2 separate regions of the Homo sapiens genome follow, and region 1 is linked to region 2. Evidence: promoter capture Hi-C in human tissues and cell types (Jung and others, 2019). All regions are on one chromosome and are shown on one strand. The core of a region is centred on a gene start or on the middle of the fragment in contact, and the rest is flanking DNA. Distances in the headings are between cores, read along the strand shown.

Evidence for each region. The method cuts DNA at HindIII sites, captures the fragments that hold promoters and counts their contacts. A contact is called where the count stands out against the background at its distance.
Region 1: a fragment that was not itself captured here is called in contact with the fragment with the promoter of KCNMA1 in region 2 in 2 of the 25 tissues and cell types used here (aorta and dorsolateral prefrontal cortex).

What each region holds. Positions count from the first base shown.
Region 1 is chr10:77,146,170-77,150,144 of GRCh38, reverse strand. The region is part of intron 5 of KCNMA1 (potassium calcium-activated channel subfamily M alpha 1); the gene reads left to right. KCNMA1-AS2 (KCNMA1 antisense RNA 2) reads right to left here. Exons shown (of 3, transcript NR_120654.1): 2 at 2,327-2,493; 3 at 45-304. Among named protein-coding and RNA genes, the nearest start is that of KCNMA1-AS2, 7.3 kb to the right of the region's middle. The HindIII fragment of the contact is 9,011 bases long and covers 1-3,975 here.
Region 2 is chr10:77,636,208-77,640,392 of GRCh38, reverse strand. KCNMA1 (potassium calcium-activated channel subfamily M alpha 1) reads left to right here and starts at 2,585. Exons shown (of 28, transcript NM_001161352.2): 1 at 2,585-3,128. The coding sequence starts at 2,751. The HindIII fragment of the contact is 5,846 bases long and covers 329-4,185 here.

The DNA.
Region 1 (3,975 bases), core at 1,249-3,748, 490 kb after region 2:
AGTTTGTCTGTGGCAGGAAGAAAGAATCCACTTATTGCTAATGATAAAGTAGTAGACCCACTTTATTTATTTTCATATAAATCATATTGTGGCAGAAATTTTCATAGCCCGAGACCAACTTCTGGAGTTTTTCTTATCTGTGAGATTGTTCCTGTTGTGTATGAGCTGTTTTGCAGAGATCAAGAATCCCTGCTCAAGTGTGATCCATCTTCATCAGTGAAGTCATATGCTGCGAGGACTTCTGAGATACTGTCTGCTGCCACATGACCACTAAGCAGATGGTTTTGTGCCTCTTGCATGGGTTCTATGAAAAGATGGAGATTTCAGTGTCCATCCTCTGTCACTCACCAGTAGTATGCAGAAATGGGTGAGCCTAACAGAGTTGTTAGGTCAACAAAGCCTGCCATTCAAATTCAGATCAGTGACCTTGCACTCAGGGACAAATTGGGGTTAGGATGCAGGCTGAGATTGGAGACGGATTATTTCACTATGCATGGGTTTGACCAGGCAGCCCAACAGCACAGGTCTTGCCCATCAAAATATTGTAACTGCCTAAAAGAGTTGGCAAAAGTCTCTAACAAAACAAAGGGTTTATGAGCTAAGCCCATCTTGCATTCATTTCCTCATTCCTTCTACACATATTTAGTGAAGGCCACTCTACACTGGACATTGGGATATGAACACAAAGAAGGAGACAAGTCACACAGCCATTTATTTATAGGAAAAAAATGTTGAAATAAATACATGAGCTGAAGACTTTAGAATTACAAAATGAGACTTGCTAACTTGTTTTGGATTGGAAGAAATTAGTTTATGCCCATGACATCGCTTTATTCCAGACTGATTAGAAGCATAATGTACATGGCAGGGGCAGGGAGAAGGGGATGACAATCCATTCTTTGAAAGAGACTCTTCTCCCCTTAGGTTAAATAGATCGTCAAGTCCTTGCATGTCAAAAGCAGAGATGTGAATCACTGTCCTTCAGAAAGGGAAGAAAACACTTTAAGCAAGTGCAAAGTTCCCAGCTGTGCTAGGCACGATGGATTATACCCAAAGAAGTTGGACAGAGACCTTGACCTCAAGGATTTCATCGTCTATTTGAATAGAAATGATTTCTATATAACTGAATTAAGCCAGAGCAATAAAAATAGCATGATATTAGGTTCTAAAGTGAGTGTTGCAGGAAACAGAAGGAACTTCCAAATGTTGTTATTTACAGATTTCTACCTTGTGAAATGTAGAAGTACCTGTTCTCAAATTAAACATTCCTTCCTCATTTCAAGATGTCAGCTACATCAGAGGTTGACCAACTATGGCCTACAGGCTACATCTGGTCCATCACCTATTTTTGTAAGGAAAGTTTTACTGGAACGAGGCCAAGCTCATTCATTTTTGTATCATCTGTGGCTAGTTTTCTCACTCCAATGGCCGCATTGAGCACTTGCAATAGAGATTGTGCAGCTTACAAAGCCCAAAATATTTATGATCTGGCCCTTTACAGAAAAAAATTGGCAACCCCTGATTTAGATTATCCAGGTTGATCCTGGTGCTAATTTAGAGCTTCAGAATAAAACACAGCTGAGGTGTGCCTGGTAGCAAATTAATCCCCCCCAAAACAAGTACTTCATTTTCCTTAAATTAATGTTGAGCATCAGAATTAAACAGAGCTAAATCTCATGATACCTGAGGCCCTTGTGAAAATGTTTTTGCTGACCCAAGATTCAGTGTTATGCTTTCTGTCCTTACAGAGAGCTAAATCAAGAGTCCCCTTTTGGAAGGAGTACCTCTGTTCTTTGTAAACTGTAATTGAAGATATAACTCACCGTGTTCTTCAGTCTTTATTCAAAGCCGCTGGCACAAAAATTCTGCTTGAATTTAATTTTAGGATAGATTTGATCTCTGAATTGGCTTTATAGGTTTTCTCAGTTCACAATAGTCATAACCTAGTTGTTTCTCTCTTGCCATAGGTGACAGGCAATGCAGAGCCAATTTCAGAAGTGAGCTCAGTAGTAAACTCATGGCAGGTGCAGGATGAGGCAAGAGAGAGGCCTGGGTGCAAACATGAGGGTGGCTCATTCCCAGGGCTATGCAAAGGCAGGGTCAGTCCCAAAAGGAGCACCTCCTTACATGTTGTGCCTGAAGTGTCCCTTTCTCAGTCTTTTCTTGGTGGTGGCAGGTGCTGCCTGGCAATCCCCATCCCTTCTACTTTTAGATGGTGGGGGCCCTGTCCTGCTTTATCCTTGTATATGGCGCTTTTATTTTAACCATGTAAACTGATTCAGGTCCTCCCTGTAGTCAACAGAGATAAAAGTCTCAATAATCAAACCTGTGGGTACTTCAGTGACCAGGGACCACCATCTGTCCCCTGTGGGTCCAGACATCAGGCAGGAGGAAAAGTTGGGGCCATGTGTCAGCGTCCCAGCTGGGGCTCACCATGGGAAGTGGGATAAGGGAGGATTATTCCAGTTCTCTTCTTTGAGTTCAGGTTTTTATCTACGGGAAGAAGAGGGAGATTGGACGAGGTTAGATTCACTTGTCTCCAATGTCCTGCATGGGGTTCTGGGACAGACAATGCCTCAGAAATGGGAGGTCCAAGAGGATGGTGACTTTCACTGCTAGCTGATGATGAAAGGGAAAGGGATGAGGGAAGAATGGGCTGAATTAGAGGCTATTCCACCCCTCTGATGGTTAGCTTTCAGGGGGAAGGGAAGGAGGGAGGGAGGCTGGTGGGGTGGGAGACAAAGACGAATTGGAGATTAGGAAAGATTCTTTGGAATAGTCAAACCAGAGACCAAGCAAAGCATCTTTTTCCCTTGTAACTTGAGACCTGTGCAAATGACACAGGCTTCTAGTTCCCAAACTTAATAAGAGTAAGTGCGTGAAGAAGAGACCTGCAGACACTTAATTCAAACAGTCTAGAATTCTGGGAATAAGTTATAGTACAAGTTATATGTGGCTGGTTATAGATTCAGCCTTGATGTTTATGTTCCCTGTTTCAAGTCACACACATCAGATTACTCACTTGTCAGCTAAAAATAGGGCCATCACTGGCTTGCAAGTCGAGTTAGGTTTTATTTCTCTATGTGCTTCATTGTTCGTTCTTTTGTGCTCCCTCCTCTGTGCCTGGCCCCCTCTGCCATGCCCAGGTGGCTTCACAGTCCCCCTTCCCCATGGTCAATACTTCTTTCTAACTGAGGGATAAATGACTCTGAAAAGGAAATGTATTTCAATGGGGACCAATCCATTACACCCGAGAGAGAGAGGCCAAGTGCAGGGACTTCTGGAGGAGACCAGGAATGAGTGATTATGTAGCATATTCTGTGTGAAAGGCATTTTAAAACACACGTAGATCAATTTATTGTCACAGCCCCTGAGAGGCATAATTCTCATCTTTTTTCTTTCCTTCTTTCTTTCTTTTTTTTTTTTTTTTTTTTTTTTTTTTTGAGATGAAGTCTTGCTCTGTCACCCAGGCTGGAGTGTAGTGGCACCATCTCCGCTCACTGCAACCTCCACCTCCTGGGTTCAAGTGATTCTCCTGCTTCAGCCTCCCCAGTAGCTGGGACTACAGGTGCAGGCCACCACGCCTGGCTAATTTTTGTATTTTTTAGAAGAGACGAAGTTTTGCCATGTTGACTAGGCTGGTCTCAAACTCCTGGCCTCAACCTATCTGCCTGCCTTGGCCTCCCAAAGTGCTGGGATTACAGGCATGAGCCACCGCGCCCAGCTTCTCATCTTTATTTTTTACATGCAGTCATAGACATTCAGGTTTCATATAAGCAGCCAGGGTCTCTCAGTGCATCAGGAGCAGAGCCAGGGTCAAAACTTACATCCATTTGAACCCAAGGCACAGTTTTTTCTTACTGGGTAATGCTGCTGTCTTATGGGGGAATTTTAGGCATCAATAAACAAGGAAGAGAAGAAGGCTAATTTCTTTTGGGGGCTGGTGGATCGTCCCCTAAAATTATGTAGATAGTC
Region 2 (4,185 bases), core at 1,336-3,835:
GAAGGTGATGATGGAGGAGAAAAAGCTATAGATCCTGCAGTTGGGGTGACAGAAGTCACGGCCATCGGCTGCTTACCAGTAGACCCCAGACTGGCATTTCAGGGGAATCCAGGCTGTAGGGAATGTCTAAGAAGGCCCCAGAGGGGATTTGCTGGTTTGCAAAATTTCAATTTTGTGGGTGAGGGAATCCATTCTGGAGGTTTCATATCCCACTGGGGAGACAGTCCTATCCTTTGCTGCCCTTTTTATGTTCTGGGTGTTTTATTTTTAAATTTCAAATCTTGGCCTTGATTTAAGGAATGTCCTTAACTTTCTTGGCATTGCTGAGGCACAAAAGCAGCAAACTACAGCCATTGAGAGGCTAATAAAGGAACCTCAATGCCATAGTCACCTTCCTGCGCATCCCCACAGCACTTCTGGGTCCCGCTCCCCCAACCCAGTACCAGAAAAGGCCCAGGGCCTTTGCATGCTTGGGTCTGGTGTGGCAGGGATGCATTCAGAGTGGCTGAACACAGAGGCCGAGGTTGGAGGTACTATGGGATGGTATGGAGAGGAGGCTCAGACAATTCCATTTTCTGGAGCACACTTTCTGCAGCTCCCTTTTACATACACTTCTTTTTGAGAACCAAATACTCAAGAACTCTTACCTCATTCCATTTTCTCCTTTGACTTTGGCCTTGACTCTTTCTTAGTGGATGTGTACTCTAAACCCAATGAATGTATTCCGAATCAAGCAAGAGAGAAGCTTCAAACATCCTCTTCAGCCTCTCTGCCCAGCTCAGCCTCCCTTGCTCGCTCTTCCTTCCAGAGACCTCCAAGGACAAGGGCAGGGCTGATCTGACTCTCACGGAGACAGCCTCAGGTGTAAAGCTAAGGATGCTAACTTGGGCCTTTTCCATGGGAAGAGCTGAAAGGAACCTGAGAATTCCAATTAGGCTTAAACTAATGAGCTGGAAACTTTGGGGAAACCACTGCAGCAATGAGGGAAGAGCGTGATCATCCTCGATTTAATTAGCGCTGGAAAAACTTGGGGTCCAGCTGGTAGCACGAGGACGGACGCTGTTCAGGGGGCGCAAAGTTTCTGAAAGTGTCAGAAGGGGGATTCCCCTGGTGGTGTACGGAGACACGCTACGGAACAAACACGGACTCCTTCTTCATCTTAAGTGGGGAGAAGGGAAGACCCTAAATGGGGAACGGTGAGCCAGAATGAAGTCTGGAGTCCCTCTTCCCCCATCTGCCCTCCTCACGGGATGGATGGAGTCTGAGACTATATGAGAGGAAAGCAACCCTTCAGGGAACTCTATTGTCTATCGGGGCCTGCACTATCCCCAGGCCAGGTCGTCCTTGATCATTTCTGCCTACTCTTTGTTGGGCAGCCTCTGTTGCTAATAAGGAAAAAGGAGAGAAACCACCTGCTGCTGTCAGAGGCCACAGACCACCCGCTGGCCTTCCTGACTCTACCCTCCAGCCACACGCGGGACCCTGGGCACATAGGTAGCAGGAAGAGCGAAGTAGGGGTGGGTAGCTGTGTGTATCCTGGCGTGGGGTCCTCCTCACTCCCGAAGCCCGAGGGTCCTGGGGAGCTCAGCCTGTGGAATCCAGTTGACAGCTGGCCACTCCTCCCCTCCCCACTGGGGGCTCTTTGGGGAAAAAAACGGCCTGACCGGGGCGCCCCGCCGTCCTCCCAGTGTACCCCACCGCTCTCGGCTGGGGGCGCAGCACCTTGGAGAGAGGCGCCTGGCCCCGCGCCTGGGCTGGGGGCGCTCTACCTTGCGCCCTGGGGGTCAGGGGCGCTTGCCGGGCCGCTGCCGAGGGGCCCTGCCCACCCCTGCCCAGCCCGGAGCCCAGGCGAGCCAGCGCGGCGAGCCTCCTCCCCTCCCGCCTGGGTCGTCCTGAGTCCGCGCCCGCTCCAGTTGCTGCAGCTGCTGCTGCTGGCGGCTGCGGGGAGCGCGGGGCGCGCGCCGAAGAGGCTTGGGCGGCGAGGACGGGGACGAGGAGGAGTCGGAGGCGGCAAGGAGGAAGAGCGAGCGGAGGCCGAGGGGCTCAGCGGCGTGGCGACAGGACTAGGGGGTCCCGAGAACATGGGCTAGCAGGCGGCCACGGGCCGGCGGCCGGACGCGGTGAACCTGCCGCGGCCGGGCGCGCACTGGCGCGGCGAGCCGGAGCCGAGCGCAGCCGGGGGAGGAGGGCTGGCGCAGGGGCGCCCGGGCGGAGGGGGCCGATTATCCATTATTAACGAGTTACCACCTAATAAGCGGAGAGCGGCTCGTTAGCCGCGCGGGAGGCGCTCGGGGAAGGGGGTCACCGGCCGAGCGCAGCGCACACCCGTGGCGCACGGCGGGCGGCGCGGCGCCGAGGACACCCGGGACCGCGCGCGGAGCCGGGGCGGGCCCGGGGGCGGCGCAGACCCCGGGCGCGGGCGGCCCGCGGCGCCCCCTGGCTCTCGGCGCTCGGGGCCAGCGCAGCCCGGGGCGAGCGGGGCGCGGGCCGGGGAGGGGGAGCTGCCCGCGCACTCCATCCCCCTCCCCCCCGGGCGGGCGGCGGCGGCTCGCTGTATATATCTCGGCGCACCCCGCCAGGTCGCGCACAGCGCCCCGAGCCCAGGCGCCTCCCCGCCCCCCTCCCGCGCTCCGCGGCGGCGGCGGCGGCGGCAGCAGTAGCAGCAATATGGCTGTTGATGGGTGTTTGGGGTGGCGCTGGCGGCGGGAGGAGCTCCCCCGAGCCCCTGCGCCGGCTGCCCGTTGCTAGCTATGGCAAATGGTGGCGGCGGCGGCGGCGGCAGCAGCGGCGGCGGCGGCGGCGGCGGAGGCAGCAGTCTTAGAATGAGTAGCAATATCCACGCGAACCATCTCAGCCTAGACGCGTCCTCCTCCTCCTCCTCCTCCTCTTCCTCTTCTTCTTCTTCCTCCTCCTCTTCCTCCTCGTCCTCGGTCCACGAGCCCAAGATGGATGCGCTCATCATCCCGGTGACCATGGAGGTGCCGTGCGACAGCCGGGGCCAACGCATGTGGTGGGCTTTCCTGGCCTCCTCCATGGTGACTTTCTTCGGGGGCCTCTTCATCATCTTGCTCTGGCGGACGCTCAAGTACCTGTGGACCGTGTGCTGCCACTGCGGGGGCAAGACGAAGGTAACGCGCGCCCCGGGCGCCCGCCCTCTGCGCCAGCCCCACCGCTTCTCGGCGTCCCCTGCAGCCCACCTCCTCGCTCCGCGCCGCGCCGTGCCTCCCTCCATCCCCGCCTGCCTTCCCCTCGCCGCCTTCCCTTCCCTCGGCTCTCCCGGTGCTCTCGGATCGGGGCAGCGGGCGGCGCGCCGGGGGTGAGGAGTTGCCCCCAGCCAGTGCGCTCCGGGACGCGGACGCTCAATCCTGTCCTCTTGTTTATTGTAGGGTTGTTGGCGGCTGCGGCTGGGGCCGGGGTCGGGGACTCACAGGCTCGGGTGCCGTGGTGCGGGGTGGGGACAGCCAACTCAGCGGGGACGGAGGAAGCTGGGGGCAGCTGGGTGCGTGTTTTGCACCGCTCACCTGCCGGGGCTCGGCTCCTGGCGGTGGGCGAGAGGGAGCACATCCGCCCATACTTTAGGAACCTGTTGGGGAGATGAGTTCGTGGGGTCAGAAAGAAGGGAAAAATCCTTTGGGCAAGGGAGAGAATAATTTTGCACAAGGGAATCCCGGGGGAGGAGCATGGCCCGAGATAACAGGGGGACTTCGAGGGGCGAGAGAAGTTGGGGAGATCCATCCCACTATTGGGGGTAGCCCACGGGGCTGCCACTTTTGGAATGTGTCGAGGTCGCATATCTGATGTAACCTCCCACTCCGTCCCTTAGGTGCTCTAGTGGAACATACCCCAAGTTCTTCGGCCTCTGTTCCTTTGCCCCCAGGCCACCCACTTTGGGTCCCCGGAAATGCCACCAGCAGCGCGGAGCTGGAGCGGGAGTCCGCCTGAGGCCGCGGTTTTACGCGGAGCGTCTTCCCTGGCGCTCGAGGTGGCTAGATGTCGTCGGCTTTAGCTATTCCTGGTGCAGACGCCCACCGGCACTGAGGCTGGCGACACCTTCGATGTATGGTTGCTAGGCTCACTGCCTGGTCTGTAGTCGTGTCCCTAGAGATGTCTTCCCTTCCCCACAGCCACTGGCTGGAGTGGGGGACCCGACACTGATAGAAAACTGCAGAATAAAAAAGAAAGAAC